3 separate regions of the Homo sapiens genome follow, and all the other regions are linked to region 1. The links are contacts of gene promoters, found by promoter capture Hi-C in blood cells and fetal thymus (Javierre and others, 2016). All regions are on one chromosome and are shown on one strand. The core of a region is centred on a gene start or on the middle of the fragment in contact, and the rest is flanking DNA. Distances in the headings are between cores, read along the strand shown.

The links. The method cuts DNA at HindIII sites, captures the fragments that hold promoters and counts their contacts. A CHiCAGO score of 5 or more calls a contact.
Region 2: a contact is called between the fragment with the promoter of C15orf40 here and a fragment that was not itself captured in region 1, in 4 of 17 cell types (naive CD8 T cells, activated CD4 T cells, M0 macrophages and 1 more). The highest score is 10.8, in naive CD8 T cells.
Region 3: the fragment with the promoter of BCL2A1 here is called in contact with a fragment that was not itself captured in region 1 in 1 of 17 cell types (monocytes); the score reaches 6.7 in monocytes.

What each region holds. Positions count from the first base shown.
Region 1 is chr15:81,304,466-81,309,436 of GRCh38, reverse strand. IL16 (interleukin 16) reads right to left here. Exons shown (of 19, transcript NM_172217.5): 17 at 3,271-3,529; 18 at 2,892-3,017; 19 at 1-832. The coding sequence ends at 639. STARD5 (StAR related lipid transfer domain containing 5) reads left to right here. Exons shown (of 6, transcript NM_181900.3): 6 at 1-384. Among named protein-coding and RNA genes, the nearest start is that of STARD5, 17 kb to the left of the region's middle. RefSeq lists a silencer at 706-883. The HindIII fragment of the contact is 7,388 bases long and covers 1-4,944 here.
Region 2 is chr15:83,008,900-83,013,870 of GRCh38, reverse strand. It overlaps C15orf40 (chromosome 15 open reading frame 40), which reads left to right and starts at 2,232. Exons shown (of 4, transcript NM_144597.3): 1 at 2,232-2,374; 2 at 3,508-3,634. The coding sequence starts at 2,264. It overlaps LOC124903542 (a long non-coding RNA gene), which reads right to left and starts at 2,130. Exons shown (of 2, transcript XR_007064742.1): 1 at 812-2,130. RefSeq lists an enhancer at 1,995-2,054. The HindIII fragment of the contact is 2,628 bases long and covers 740-3,367 here.
Region 3 is chr15:79,968,296-79,973,266 of GRCh38, reverse strand. BCL2A1 (BCL2 related protein A1) reads left to right here and starts at 2,071. Exons shown (of 2, transcript NM_004049.4): 1 at 2,071-2,567. The coding sequence starts at 2,148. RefSeq lists enhancers at 1,448-2,647, 4,952-4,971. The HindIII fragment of the contact is 17,831 bases long and covers 1-4,971 here.

The sequences.
Region 1 (4,971 bases), core at 1-2,500:
TCTTGCGATCCTGGGATGCTCATCCTGGGAATCCAGACACCATGTTGTGAGGAGGCCCAGGCCACAAGGAGAGGCCACCTATAAGCATTCAGGCCAGCAGCCCCAGGTGAGTTCCCAGCCAACATCAACGGCCAGATGTATGAGTGAATGATCTCACGTGGTCCCAGCCTTTGCATGACTTTGCATGACGCCAGCTGATGCCAAGTGGGACAGAGATGAGCTGCCCATTCCAATCTCTGCCCACATTGCAGATTCATGAGAAAAATAAATGTCACTGTTTGGGGGTGAATCATGACACAGTTACAGTACTTGAAACATTTTGCGAAGCCAGGCATGAATGTCATATGAAATTCTAATAAATCCATTTTATTTGTGGCACCACAATATTATCATTAAGCTCTCTTTTTACACAGTCTGCAATTTGTATCAGCTGCCCCCGTGTGACTCTGCCCTTATTTTAGGAACAACCTTTTGCTGGGTGGCGTCCTAGAAGGTCTGGGCCTGGGCAGCAGCCACTGGGAAGCCCACCTGTGCTTTCCCCCATCTGGGTGGGGCGGCAGCAGAGACCCTGAGAATCAGCGGTTATGGGAGCTGTGTGTTAGCTGTGTGTTATTGGCTTTGGCTTCAGCATGTCCTGCCTAGGAGTCTCCAGCAGCTGTGGTTTCCTTGGACTGGAGGCTTTTTCTCCTGATGACAATCGTGACAGGTCCATCAGGCAGTGCCTTGATGATGTTCCAGGCTTCAAACCGTGTGAGGCCCTGCATGGCAGTGCCACCCAGCTGTAAGATTTCATCTCCAGGCTGGACTGTCTCACTTTGTTCTGAGGCTGCTCCTGAAATGAGGGAGAAGGTAATGGGTTCCACAGATGATGGGGAACAAGGAAAGTTGCCTCCTCTCCTTGATCTCCAAAGAGCCAGGATAGCTTGGTAGAGAACAGGGCACCATCCCTTGGGAGCTTGCTTGTTGGTGGTTCTAAAATGAGGCATCTCTTAAGATGGTGACTCAGAGGTTAGGGCACCAGGCTCCAGCTCTCCATGGCCTTTGGAAAGGGATAGCCCTTGCTGTCCCCAGGGGAGGGAAATATCAGGCAGCTCCACGCCTTAGCCTGCCTGGAGCACCGTCCATAGTTCATAGAGGACTCTGGGGAGCTGAGTCCTGCCCAGACCCTGCTTTGGACACTGACCCAATATCCTACTCCCTTCACATTTGTTCTCCGCATGTGGTGAGGACATCAGCATTGGGTGGTATGGGAAGAGAGCTAGTGAGATTTTTGTGCAACAATATTTACAGGGATCTTGCCTCTGGCACGAAGTCCTCTGTGTCCACATAAAAAAGGAAACAACCATATATGGCCCCCACTATTTCAAAGCTGCAAGTGAAAACAATGCTATTTTACTGTTTATATTAAAATAAAATTTCCCATCCATTTGACACAGTGATCTTCACAAATCCTGATAAGAGTAGAAGATAATACTAATGATAGTAATGAAAATATAGCTAAAGTGTATTGGGCAATTATTTTAACAGGCGTTGTGCTAATGTTTTGCATTTATGACAGTAATCCTATGAGGGGTGTATTATTTGTGTTTCCTTTTAACAGCTGAGGAAACCAAGAACTCAAGTAACTGGCCCAGAGCTTCATAGCTGCTAGTGGTGGGCCCTGGGCTGGAACCCAGACTTTCTGGCTCCAGAATCTGCATCTCTCCTTCCAACATCACCCTGCAGCTGGCAGTCTCATCCTAAACATTTAAGCAAATGGGCCCATGGTGGTGAAGTGACTTGTCCAAGATCATGCTACCAAGGTCATGTGGCAGAACTAACACTGGAATCTAGTCCTCTTGACATTGAACCCAATGCTCCTTCCAAATTGACCTTCAAAAATTAGAAATATCTTTCCCAGAATTGGGGTTAACATGGATTCTGGGGGGAATGCCATGTAAGCCTCACTCTACCTTCTGGGTTTCTGCAGCCGCAGCAGAACTTCCTCTAACGAAACCAGTCAGCAGCAGGAGCTCATAGTGGGTGAGGGACAGAGCTAAGAGTCCCTTTGGGTCTCAGTCCTAAGAGCCCTCAGACACACACCTGTACCTCTTTACCTCCTTTTATGGATGAAGAGCCTCAGGCCCAGAAGGGAAGGGTCACTCAGCACATTACAGGCAGAGCTGGGACTAGAACCTGGCCCACCTGCCTCCCTGTCCAGTACTCCTCTCTCTACAACCCCTTGCTCTGTGGCTTGGAGACCTCCAATTTGAGGAACACCAAAGAATCAGGGATGGTTTTACATGGTAGCCACAGTCATTCATGATTTTCACAGGGAAATCCAAGTGACCCCCATATCAGACTGGTTTGTACTCCAATCCCTGATGAACAAAATATCTATCAACATTTTAAATAAAGGCAGGAGCTGACGTGTCCAGGACTAGGGTAAGGCAAATGAGGCCAAGTGTGCAGTACAAAGTCAGACTCTGTCTTGATTTAAACTTGGATATTTTGTCCAACATGTTTTTTTAAAATTAATTTTAAAAAACACGCTGCATTAAAATAGTATCGATCTGAGTTACTGAGTGTTTTGGCACCCCTTTAAAATTCTGCCCCACAGGCCAGTGCCTCACTGCCCCACTCTAGAGTCCTGGCCCTGCCAACCCGAACCAAGCCCAGGACTTAGGTATTTTTGAAGACCCATCAAAACAGAGGGGGGATTGAGGGGATGTCTGAGCAAAGGAGAAAAAGTAGAAAAAGCAGAATTGAGCCCTAAAAGGACCAGCATGCCTATGAAGAGGACATGGAGTTGTGGGAAACAACATAGCCCAGAAAGTGCCCAGAAGCCTTTTGGGGGCCTGGCCACATGCCCACAACTGGAGAGCACGCAAAGAACCAGACACACCCCACACCTTTGAAAATCCTGTTAATGGTGAGAGGCTTGTCTCCGTGTAGGGAGCCCTTCCCTCCTTCCAGGCTGAAGCCCAGCCCTGCCGACATCTTCTCCAGTGTCACCGTGCAGACTGTGGCCTCTGCTGCTGAGAAAAACACAAGGTCTCTGTTAGGGATCCTCTCCTCTCCCAGGCCACAGATGCCCTGGGCTTCAAGTGAGCCCGGGGTGATACAGCCCCCGTGTTTGCACACAGGCACATGTAAACACGTCTCAGGCAGTGTACTAGGCAGCCACACATTCTTGGGGTCACAAATTACTGAGTAGCCCCATCAGGTCTGGCCCCAAATGGCCAAAGAGGATGTGGCCCATGTGGCTTCCACTGAGTTGGGAGAACTTACTAGATTCTACAGAAACATCACTGGCTGCAGAGGCTGAGGCTGCAGAGTCAGTGGAGGAGTTGAGGTCGGGCATGGCCTCTGGAGTCAGCTTCCTTGTGACAATCACAGCTTGCCTGGGCTCTCGAGCTTGGCGGAGGATGGCCAAGGCATCATGGTGCGTGGTCCCCTTGAGAGACTTGCCGTTGATGGAAAGAACCTCATTGCCCTTCTGAATAGTCCCTTCCTGGGAGGCCAGCCCATTTGGAAACACTCTGTGAACCTGAGCAAACCAAAGGAAGTCAGGACCAGAAATCACACAAGTCCAGTCCACATACTTGCTGGAGGAGGATTGAACCGGTTAGTCAATGCTAGAGGATTTTTAGGCCAACAAAGATTAAAGATAATTGTGTCCTAGATTGGAGCTGCTGGCACAGAGGCCAGCATTCCCTCCTTCTCCATCCAGAGCAGAGATCACCAGCAGTAATGACCAGGTAAGCCCTCAGAATCCATCCCAACACAACGTCCTATAGTGTACCACCACGATTCTAGTTGGGATTCCATATAAAATCTTTTGCTTCACCTGCCCTAGGTCAGAAGTCCCCAGAGTAGTTTTCTCAAGGCACTGATTCTATGGCATATTAACGGGTATTGTGTAAGAAAAAGGCTTTTCCTATTATTTTTTAAAAAATAGAGACAGGGTCTCCCAGTGTTGCCCAGGATGGTCTCAAACTCCTGGGCTCAAGCAATCCTCTCACCTTGGCCCCGCACAGTGTTGGAATTACAGGTATGAGCCACCACACCCGGCCAAGAAAAATTTTTTAAAATCAAAGAAACTTGAGGAATACTGGGTGAAACAAAAGCTCTGACATTGTCTACTTTTAAAAAGCAAAAGGCATTAGAGGGTCTACAATGCAAATTTGCATGGCAGCAGATTTCTAAGCAAAAGGCATTTAGAGGGTCTACAATGCAAATCTGCATGGCAGATTTCTAAGTATTGGCAGGGTATTATGGGGATTCCCAAAGTGTTTCAACAAAGAATTCTTTTCTCATAGAGAAATTCTCGGTCTCATTTGGCAGAATGCATTTTGAGAAACACTCTCCTAGGCAGTCTAGACATTTTTATAGCTCCTCCCCTAGAAATTCTGACTCTTTACCTCCAGTCACCTCTTGGTCCCCTTTCTGCAAGATATGTGGGATAAACAAACACACAAAAATATCTCATGTCTCTGCCTCAGCCTCTTTAATGAGGTCCATTATAATTAAGAGGACTGAGTGATAGCATGCATGGAAACCACTAAAATGTGGTACCTGTAGTTTTGCTTTTATGATAGGAGCAAAGCTCTTTGCTTCTCTAAATTGTTTTGGTGTTAGAAAAATTCTGTTACATGGTTAGAATCCCCAGGCTGTAACATCCAAGCATGAAGCAGAACCTCTCCTCTGAGCCTCAGGTTCCTCAATGCTAGAGGATTTTTAGGCCAACGAAGATTAAAGTTAATTAAAGGAGGAACCTCAGGTTCCTCCTCTATAAAAGAAGCATAAATGCCACCAATTTATCAATCCAAAGTGTGGGTAGGATGAATTTAGACAACAGGTCAGTGAGTGCTCAGCATGGCCGTGGATGGTGCTCTACGTTAGTTCCCTTTTAATCATCTGGAAAGGAAGAGAAATGCTCAAACACAGAAGGAGAAAGAAGCTTTTGTGCATGTGCTCAGCCAACATGTG
Region 2 (4,971 bases), core at 983-3,482, 1.7 Mb before region 1:
AGTTAGACTCTACTTTTGGTCTCCCTCAACCCCTCTCCACCTTTGGTCTTTAATAACTTTAACCATTTCATCAATAACCCTCAACCCACTTAAATATACCTGAATCAATCCAGTTGTCTGCCTTATCTTCAACTTCCTGACTGCTTTGGTAGTAGCACTGGGGCCAAAAAAAAATTTAATTAAAAAAAAAACTTCTTAGCTGGTGAATCCAGGCATCTAAAGTAACGTAACTATAGGCCAGGCGCTAGCTCACGCCTGTAATCCTAGCACTTTGGGAGGCCGAAGTGGGTGGATTGCCTGAGCTCAGGAGTTCGAGACCAGCCTGGGCGAAATGGCGAAACGCCCGTCTCTACTAAAAATACAAAAAATGGGTGTGGTGGCGCGCGCCTGTAGTCCCAGCTACTCTGGAGGCTGAGGCAGGGAGAATTGCTTGAACCTAGGAGGCGGAGGTTGCAGTGAGCCGAGATCCCGCCACTGCACTCCAGCCTGGGCGACAGGCTCTTCCCATCCCCCTGTCTCAAAAATAAACAAAAATAAAATAAGGTAACTATAGATTGGGATCATAGATGATTTCACGGTCTCCCTTAACTGTCTACCGCTGGGTGAGTTGCAATAGTCAGCCCTTTGCCATTCTCAAGAGTCCCAATATACCTTCAACACCTCCCCCGCCTTAGTTAATGAAAGAAATTCCACCTCCCATCACCAAACCTACAAACACAGCTACATGTCCACCTAAGCTTTCCCTTAGGAAGGAAGGAGTGTCTAAGGCCTCCTGTAGAGAACTCAATCTCTACTTGAGCTCAGATCCTACCTCTTCAGGAACCGTCCTCTGCTGTAACCTCTCTTCTCCTGGCTCTTTCCTACCAATCTTCAAATATGATAAAAATAAGTCTCTGAATGTCATGTGCCCCTCCAGATACCAATTGCTCCTTCACAGTGAAGTCACTGGATTATTCTCTACAATTATCTCCATTTCCTTCTCTCCACTAAAACTGCTGTAGCCCGGGTCACCACCACCACCCTGATTTCTAAATCTTGTGGCCACTTCTCAGTCGTTACATGTGACATGTTCTCTCCAGAGTGTTCATCACTGTTGATGTTCCCTCTTGAAGCGCCCTTCTTTAGCTGCCGTTACACCGTACTCCTACCTGGTCAGTGTCCTTTGGTGACTTCTCTACCTGCCCTTGCTGTTCTAACCTGGGCCCTCGTGCTCTTTACACACTCTCTCATCCATTTCCATAGCTTCAATTGCCATCTGCTTTCAGAAGATTCCAGAATCTCTATCACCAGCCTTGATTTCGCAAACTCCAGTCACATATATTCAGTTACCCCTTTAACATTTGTATTTGGATGTCCTGTGGGCATCTCAAACTCATTATGTCCAAAGCTGAACTCCTCACCTCGGCCTCCCAAACCTGTTCCTTGGGCCCCAAACCTGGGCATTTCCTTGACTTTTCCCCCTTATTCGCACATGCAGTCATTCCCAAGTTCTGATCATTTCAGTTCCTGAAGATCCTTGAAATGATCAGCGCTCCACCCTCCCTGCGGTTACTCTAGTTCAGGCCACCCTCTCCCATTTAGGGGGCGGATCTCCCTGTCTCTGGCTTTTCCTCTGTCGGCCACAGTGCAGCCGGTGTCTTTCTAAAACCCAGCAAATTGGGCTGCTAATAATCCCTTGCTTGAAAGCCTTCAGTGACTCCATGATCTTGCCTCTGCTGATTTGTTTCATGTCTCTCCATATCACATGTCGCAGTGTATTTCCTCTTCTTTTACATTGTGGGATCCGCTGCGCCTGGCACAAGGTAGGTGCGCCATCGATACGTGGAAGATTCACAAGGGCCAAGCCGCCACGAGGCTCTATATCGACTTGATGGCCACAGGCAGCGCGTGGGACTCTGCATCTGCTGCTTGGCTGTGGGAGCGAGAAGACACCTGGCCCTGTGCACTCCTTGCCGCGCTCTCCAATTCTGAGAAGTGACAATACCTTTCTTTCCCCGATTAGGAAAGAGGTGACACACCTTCCTATCAGCTGAGCAGGGTGGGCCAAGACACGGTGAGGCCTCAGCTCCGCAGCTCCACTTCCTGGGGCTCGGCCCGTTCCAGAACAAAAGAGACTCGCGCATGTTCTGCGGCCACGAGACTCGCTCCCGCCGGCCTTAAGGTGTCGCCCTCTGGCCAGAGCGGATGCGCCGGGCGGTGGGGCCGCTCCTGCCGGCTACCTGCGCAAGCGCAGAGGGCTCTTCCGGCGCCTTCCCAGGCGGGGATGCTGCGGCTCCGCAGCGGGCTGAGGCACCTTCGGGCAACACCCAATACTCGGGGCTCCGCTCGGCTTCTTTGCGCCGAGATGCCTAAGAAGGCTGGTGCGACGACCAAGGCCAGTAGCAGGTCCCGTGGCGGCAGAGGGGTGGGCCTCAGGGGTACTTGTTGAAGAGCGCGGGAGAAGCGGGGCCCGGGAGTGAGTGGAGGCACTGCCAGCGGCTTGCCGTCTCTCAGTTCCGGGGCTCAGGACAGCCGCCGCCACCCCCAGAGCTGCGGCCTGCTGCCGTCGCCCCGCCTCAGTAGGCTGCGCTGCCGTCCACCTGGTGATTTCTGAGCGCTGGGCCCGGCGGCAGCCGAGCTCTCCTTGGGCTGCGTGTGCTGACCTTTGGCCTCCTACCCGCACTCCCAGTCCAGCAATTCATGTTCCCGCAGCGGCATGACCTGCGTTTCCCCAGGAGGCTGTATTCTGCTTTCTCCTCCCTTGCTTTGGCTGATCGCACCCCTTCTGTCAAGAATACAGCACTCCCATTTCCACCATCTTTGTTTGGCCAACCCCAGTCCGTTTCTCAGACTCAGCTCAAGCACTGCCTCCTGCTGGCAGCATTCTCCAGTGCCCCAATGCTGATTTGCCTGTGGGGTAATGTTCTGTGCCTATCTCATCGGTGCACTTAGCACAGTGTATTATAATTTTGTATGTTCTTTCTCCCTCGCAGCAGTCCGAGCTCCTTGAGAGCAAGGACCATGTACCTTTTCATCTTTACATATCCATTGCCTACATATTTGTTGAACGAAAGTTCCTAGCACAGCCCCTGTCCCATAACAGGCCTTTAAATATCAAGCACTATTTTTTTTTCCTCCCTTTCCCGCAACATGCAGACATACACACTTTCACCAACATTTATTAGCTCCGACTGCATGAGATACAATGATGAATAATAAATGATCCCTGCCCCCAAGGAATTGGAAATACAAAGCAGAGGGAGGAGCAAGCATTAAGGTTTAGAAGCCAGAGTTAGGTTTTCTTGCAAGGGGGGAAAAAACACTGTTGGGTTGATGGGAACCCTTCGTGGGAAAATTGAGTAGAGCCTTGAAGGTTGTGGGAAAAGCTTTCTAGGTGGCCAGAAGTCCCTGGACACCACTGATGAGCCTAGTTTGTCTGTTAAGGGTGAAAGGGGGTAGTGGAAGAATCAAATTAAATGTGTGGGAAAATATTTTGTAACCTGTAAAGTTGTGTGGTTGTCATTTTAGGGTAAAAGCCAGAGCAAGGAACCAGAGAGACCACTTCCTCCCTTAGGTCCTGTGGCAGTTGATCCTAAAGGATGCGTCACCATAGCCATCCATGCAAAACCTGGCTCCAAACAAAATGCTGTAACAGGTATACCTGGACACTGGGGTGGGATTCAAGTGTGAATCAGGTGTCTCCTACAGCCCTCCTTTGCTTTGGTTAGCTGAAAGCTTATTCTATGACAGTTGATTTTTCACATCTGCAGTTAGAGGCTTCTCCATTTTAAAATTCTAGATTCTAATGTAAAGGTGTCTTAAAGTGAATATATCTTTAAATCATGCCAAGTTACACGAAAACCATTGTATATTTTCCTCTTTAAAAATACAGTATTTTAGAAAGGACAGTTATGGAAACTTGTGTGTAGTCTGGATTATTCTTAGTTTGTCCTGTTCCAAAACTGGAGACATTGGCCAGAGAAAGAAGAGACATTTTAGTGTAGTTTAATGATCACTGGCCTAAGGAGAGGGAGAAAACTTGAGATCTGAGACCCGTGATCAGTTCCTGTGCGAATTTGTTTTAAATCAAAACAGTATAAAACATTCATGGGTCCAGTTTTTTCATCTGTCAGATGAGATCGTTGGACTAAGTTAGAGGCTTTCAGGCTATTCTCTGGAGTGCTGGAGGTGCCTCAGGAATCAGCTTTGGGCAAGGAGGAGGCCAGGCAGACAGGGCTCCTGACTAGCTCTGTTTACATTTGTTTTACATATTGGGATTCTGGAGAAAATTGGGGGAAGGGATTCTAAAGGAAAAAAAGTTCAAAAACCATTGCTCTAAATTCTTTTGAAGGTCTTTTTCACCTCTAAAGCTCTGTATTTCAAACCATTTTTAGATTTTGAAAGGAAAACCACAACATTGACGTGCTAGACCTGGTTTATGCTGATGACCAAGTTAACTTAGCCATACCCTCCTTGGCCAGCATTTTCTAAGTAGTGGGTGTGGACACTGTCTACGTTGGAGTATTATGTTTCATTAGATCTAAAATGGGAGGCTGGATGCCATGGCTCATTTGTAAAATGGAGATAATAATGGTACTAATATCTTCATAAAGTTATTATAAGGATTAAAGAAGTTAGTATTTGTAAAGCCTTTAACACATTTGTGTGTGCTTAAAATTGGTGTATAGTAAGTGCTCTGTAAATATTTGTTAAGTAAACATTATTAAATTTTAAAAACACTCAAGATATGTGTCACATAAGAGGTGAACCTAGTCCGGGGCTCTCATTTTCCTGTTGAGGAAACCCTGCACAACCTTGTACAATCTAGTAAGCTGCCCTGTCCATACACTTCTTCAGTGACATTGATGAGGCTGAAGGCCATCTATGACTCCCTGCCTGGGGCTCTTCACATACCAAGGGCAATTTCCAGTTGCCTAAATCCAGGATATTCCCCAGGGCTCTGTAAGCCCATCTTGGTCGGCAAGATTGGGT
Region 3 (4,971 bases), core at 822-3,321, 1.3 Mb after region 1:
ATTTGCATTTCACCTATGAAGTTATATCCTTGATAGGTAAAGAGATGATTGGGAGGCCAAATTCCTCATTAGTCCACAAAAGAACAATGAGGAACTAGCTTTGATTAGGCACGTACGTTTTACCAGGCATGGTGATAGAGGCTTTACATAGGTCATCTCTTTGAACTTCACCTCAACCCTCTGAGGTCAACATGTATTGCCTCATTTTACAAATTAAGCACAGACCCAAGGTACATACTGAGTAAAGAAAGAGAGATTTGGCTGGGACTGAGTCCAGGCCCTCTGACTGTAAGTCCAGTGCTCTTTCTGGTCCTGCAATTTCTAATCCACACATCGGATAGTTTACCTGAGTTAAAAATGTGAATTAAGTCAGGCTTAAAGCAGAATTTTGTTTTCTATCAGAAATTCTAGAGTAGGTGGAAGGTGAAGACCAAAGAAGGTATTTTCTTTTTCTTTTTCTTTTTTTTTTTTTTGAGATGGAGTCTCGCTCTGTCGCCCAGGCTGGAGTGCAGTGGCACAATCTCAGCTCACTGCAAGCTCCGCCTCCTGGGTTCAAAGGATTCTCCTGCCTCAGCCTCCCAAGTAGCTGGGACTACAGGTGCCCGCCACCATGCCTGGCTAATTTTTTGTATTTTTGGTAGAGATGGGGTTTCACTGTGTTAGCCAGGATGGTCTCGATCTTCTGATCTCGTGATCCGCTCGCCTCAGCCTCCCAAAGTGCTGGGATTACAGGGGTGAGCCACCGTGCCTGGCCCAAAGAGGGTATTTTTTTCTTCCCTCTCGGTATCATCCTTACTCAATTACAAATGATCAAGGGCGGTACTGCCAGAGTCACCTCGAGAGGCCCTGTTCTCTGCCACCCAGGCTGTTTTGTAGTCTCCATTCCAAATTGTCGTTACTCCGGTTTACCCCGTGGATGGCGTTTAAGACTTTTCTTAAATTTGAAATTCACAGAACCATTTTAAAGTGAACAATTCAGTGGCATTTAGTACCTTCGCAGTGTTGTGCAACTTCCACCTCTATCTAGCTGCAAAACATTTTCTTTTCTTTTTTTTTTTGGAGACAGAGTCTCGCTCTGTTGCCCAGACTGGAGTGCAGTGGCGTGATCTTGGCTCACTGCAACTTCTGTCTCCCGGGTTCAAGCAATTCTCCTGCCTCAGCCTCCCGAGTAGCTGGGATTACAGGCACACGCCACCCGCCTGGCTAATTTTTTGTATTTTAGTACAGACGGGGATTTACCATATTGCCCAGGCTGGTCTCAAACTCCTGAGCTCAGGCAATCCGCCCGCCTTGTCCTCCCAAAGTGCTAGGATTACAGGCGTGAGCCAACGCGGCCGGCCTTGTAAAACATTTTCATCACACAAAAGAAAACCTTCTACCCATTAAGCAGTTACTCCTTCCTCTTCTCAGCCCCTGTCAACCACCAATTTGCTTTCTATCCTATGGATTTAACTGTCTGGATATTTCATAGAAATAGAATCACATAATGTATGACCTTTTCTGTTTGGCTTCTTTCTATTAGCCTAATGTTTTTGAGGTTCATTCCTGTTGAAGCATGTATCAGTTCTTCATTCCTTTTTTGGGATGAATAATGTTCCATAATTTATTTATCCTTTCGTCTGTTGATGAACATTTGAGTTGTGTCCACATCTTGGCTATTGTGAATAGTGCTGCCATGTACATTCGTATGTAAGTATTTGAGTATCTGTTGGGTGTATACCTATGAATGGAATTGCTGGGTCTTTTGACAATTCTGTATTTAACTTTTTGAGAAACTGCCAACATTTTCACAGGGGTTGTACCATTTCACATTCCCACCAGCAATCTACAAGGATTCTAATTTCTCCACATCCTGCATTTAAGACTTGCAAAGCTGAATTAATCACAGGATGAGGAAGTGGCTTCTCTGAAACATTTTCCTCTTTCACATTTTAAACTTTCTCTTTCATACATGACATGAAACACAGCCTACGCACGAAAGTGACTAGGAGGAAGGATATTATAAAGTGATGCAAACAGAAATTCCACCAGCCTCCATGTATCATCATGTGTCATAACTCAGTCAAGCTCAGTGAGCATTCTCAGCACATTGCCTCAACAGCTTCAAGGTGAGCCAGCTCAAGACTTTGCTCTCCACCAGGCAGAAGATGACAGACTGTGAATTTGGATATATTTACAGGCTGGCTCAGGACTATCTGCAGTGCGTCCTACAGATACCACAACCTGGATCAGGTCCAAGCAAAACGTCCAGAGTGCTACAAAATGTTGCGTTCTCAGTCCAAAAAGAAGTGGAAAAGAATCTGAAGTCATGCTTGGACAATGTTAATGTTGTGTCCGTAGACACTGCCAGAACACTATTCAACCAAGTGATGGAAAAGGAGTTTGAAGACGGCATCATTAACTGGGGAAGAATTGTAACCATATTTGCATTTGAAGGTATTCTCATCAAGAAACTTCTACGACAGCAAATTGCCCCGGATGTGGATACCTATAAGGAGATTTCATATTTTGTTGCGGAGTTCATAATGAATAACACAGGAGAATGGATAAGGCAAAACGGAGGCTGGGTATGTGTGATGGAAAAATTCTTCATTGTTCTTTCCTGTGAAATAGAAATTGAGAATTTCCTTGCTAGTTAAAACAACAACAAAACACTTTACCTAAGAATACTATTTTCCTTGGGTGGTTTGTTTTAATTTTTAAAATAAAAATATACTTTCTGGCTTATTTCCAATGAATCCTTGAACTTGAACTTTATAGTTGGAAAGCACTTATGTTTTCAGTTTTTATTCTTAACAGTATAAATTACAGTAGTGAGCTTTGGGGATTAATAAAGCACCTCTCTCATGCAGCTTCACAATCAGCTGTGCACACACTCTAATCTAGTACTTAGCTTTTGCTAGGGTTGTCATGACAGTACAGACAGTACAGAAATTTCTACAATCAGCACAGAAAGTTGCTATCAGATGCTGTTATTTTTAGGTATTTATGGGTTGCAAAAGACAGGTGTAAATTTTTGTAAGTTCATCGCTTACAAATTGGTGTTTTTCAGTTTACTAATACATAATAAATAGTAACATATATTAATATATAGCAAATTACATTACATATAATATATAACACATTATTACTAATAATAAATTCCGGGCTGTTAAAGTTTGTTGATTAAAACATAATATACTGTATGACCAGCAAGAACCTTTATTCAAGAATTTTCAAATAAAAATTTACTTTATTATCAGTGCCTAAAAAAGCCAAGACTATGTAGAGGCCTGTGTTGAAACTCATGTTGGTAAAAAGCCTGACACAGCTGGATGTATATGGTTTCCTTTATATTCCAATATACTTAATAATTATTTTTTTAAAGCACTTAAGTGTTCATTGATCCTCTCTCCAACGGCCTTCACCTCTCCCAAGAGGTAACCACTGTTATCAATTATTTTGCATGCAAAACATGCCTACTGAATCTATCCATAGAAAATAAACAATACTTCTTTGTAAAACATTTTTTGTAAAAAAAGTTTTATATAAAATGTATATGTATGCTTATGTATATGTTTTACATAACATATATGTTATACCATATAACACATACCTTTTTTACATATACACATAGATTTTTTATGTATACATATAAATTTTGCATACATATTTTTACATGTGTATATGTAAAAATAGTACATGGTACTAATGCTGCCACTTATTTTTTTACCCAGAATTATTTAAAATAGTATTATTAAGAGTGCTGTGTATATTCTGTTATATGTAAGTGCTGTAGAGTACCTGGCCATTTCTAGCTGATAGCTGTTTAGGTTATTTCGAGTTTGCTGTCACACACAATGCTTCATTGAATATCATTTTACGTAAATCTTCCCTTGTGCGTGTGTGTAGTTTTCTAGGGTGGATGTTGGGTTGTAGATGCTGGGTCATGGTGTACATACATTTTTTAATTTGTTAGGTCCTTGCCCTCCAAAGTGGCTCTACCAAGTTACACTCCCATCAGCAGCTCGTTAGGATATGCCCCGGGATTCTCCTACCCCAGCTGACTAACAGTAGGTTGCTGCAATTCATCATAATTTTCTTAATTTGTTGGGCTAAAAATATAGAGTTTATCTTGTTTCAATTCTTGTTTTCTTGATTTCTAGTAAGGTTAATTTTTTTTTTACATTTTGAGCATCTTTTCATATATTAACTGATCATTTGTAAATGCAGGGAATTGTCTGTTTACACCCTTTGCCCATTTTCCTTTTATTTTGTCTTTTTCTTATTGATTTGTAGGAATTCTTTGAATATTCTGGATACAAATTATTATTTTTATTATTGTTTAAATTTTTTGAGACAGAGTTTTCATTCTTGTTGCCCAGGCTGGAGTGCAGTGGTGTGATCTCAGCTCACTGCAACCTCTGCCTCCTGGTTTCGAGCAATTCTCCTGCCTCATCCTCCCAAGTAGCTGGGATTACAGGCATGTGCCACCACACCCAGCTAATTTTGTATTTTTAGTAGAGACAGGGTTTCACCATGTTAGTCAGGCTGGTCTCGAACTCCTGACCTCGGGTGATCCTCCCCCTTTGGCCTCCCAAAGTGATGGGATCACAGGCGTGAGCCATGCACCCAAATTATTTTTATGTATGTGGCAGATATCTTTTAGTTTGCTGATTAACGCTAATGATGTCTTTGGTCATTATAAATGTTTAAAAGTTTGTTGCAATCAAATTTATTGATCTTTTACTTGATGCCTTTTTCATTTTGTTTAAGGCCTTCCTGCATGATAGAGCTTACTGCAGCTACTCCCCTTTCTCAATCACCTTCTTCCTGGAACTTAGTTCTTTCTAACTGAGCCTGACTGAGGCTGGGCGAATCATGTGAAATGTTTTGTCATGTTTTCTTCCGGTTGGCTGTGGGAGGCTATACTTGAGGACTGGTGGAAATTCAGCTGCACTGTGTAGATTTCAGGTGAAGGCAAATGTTCTC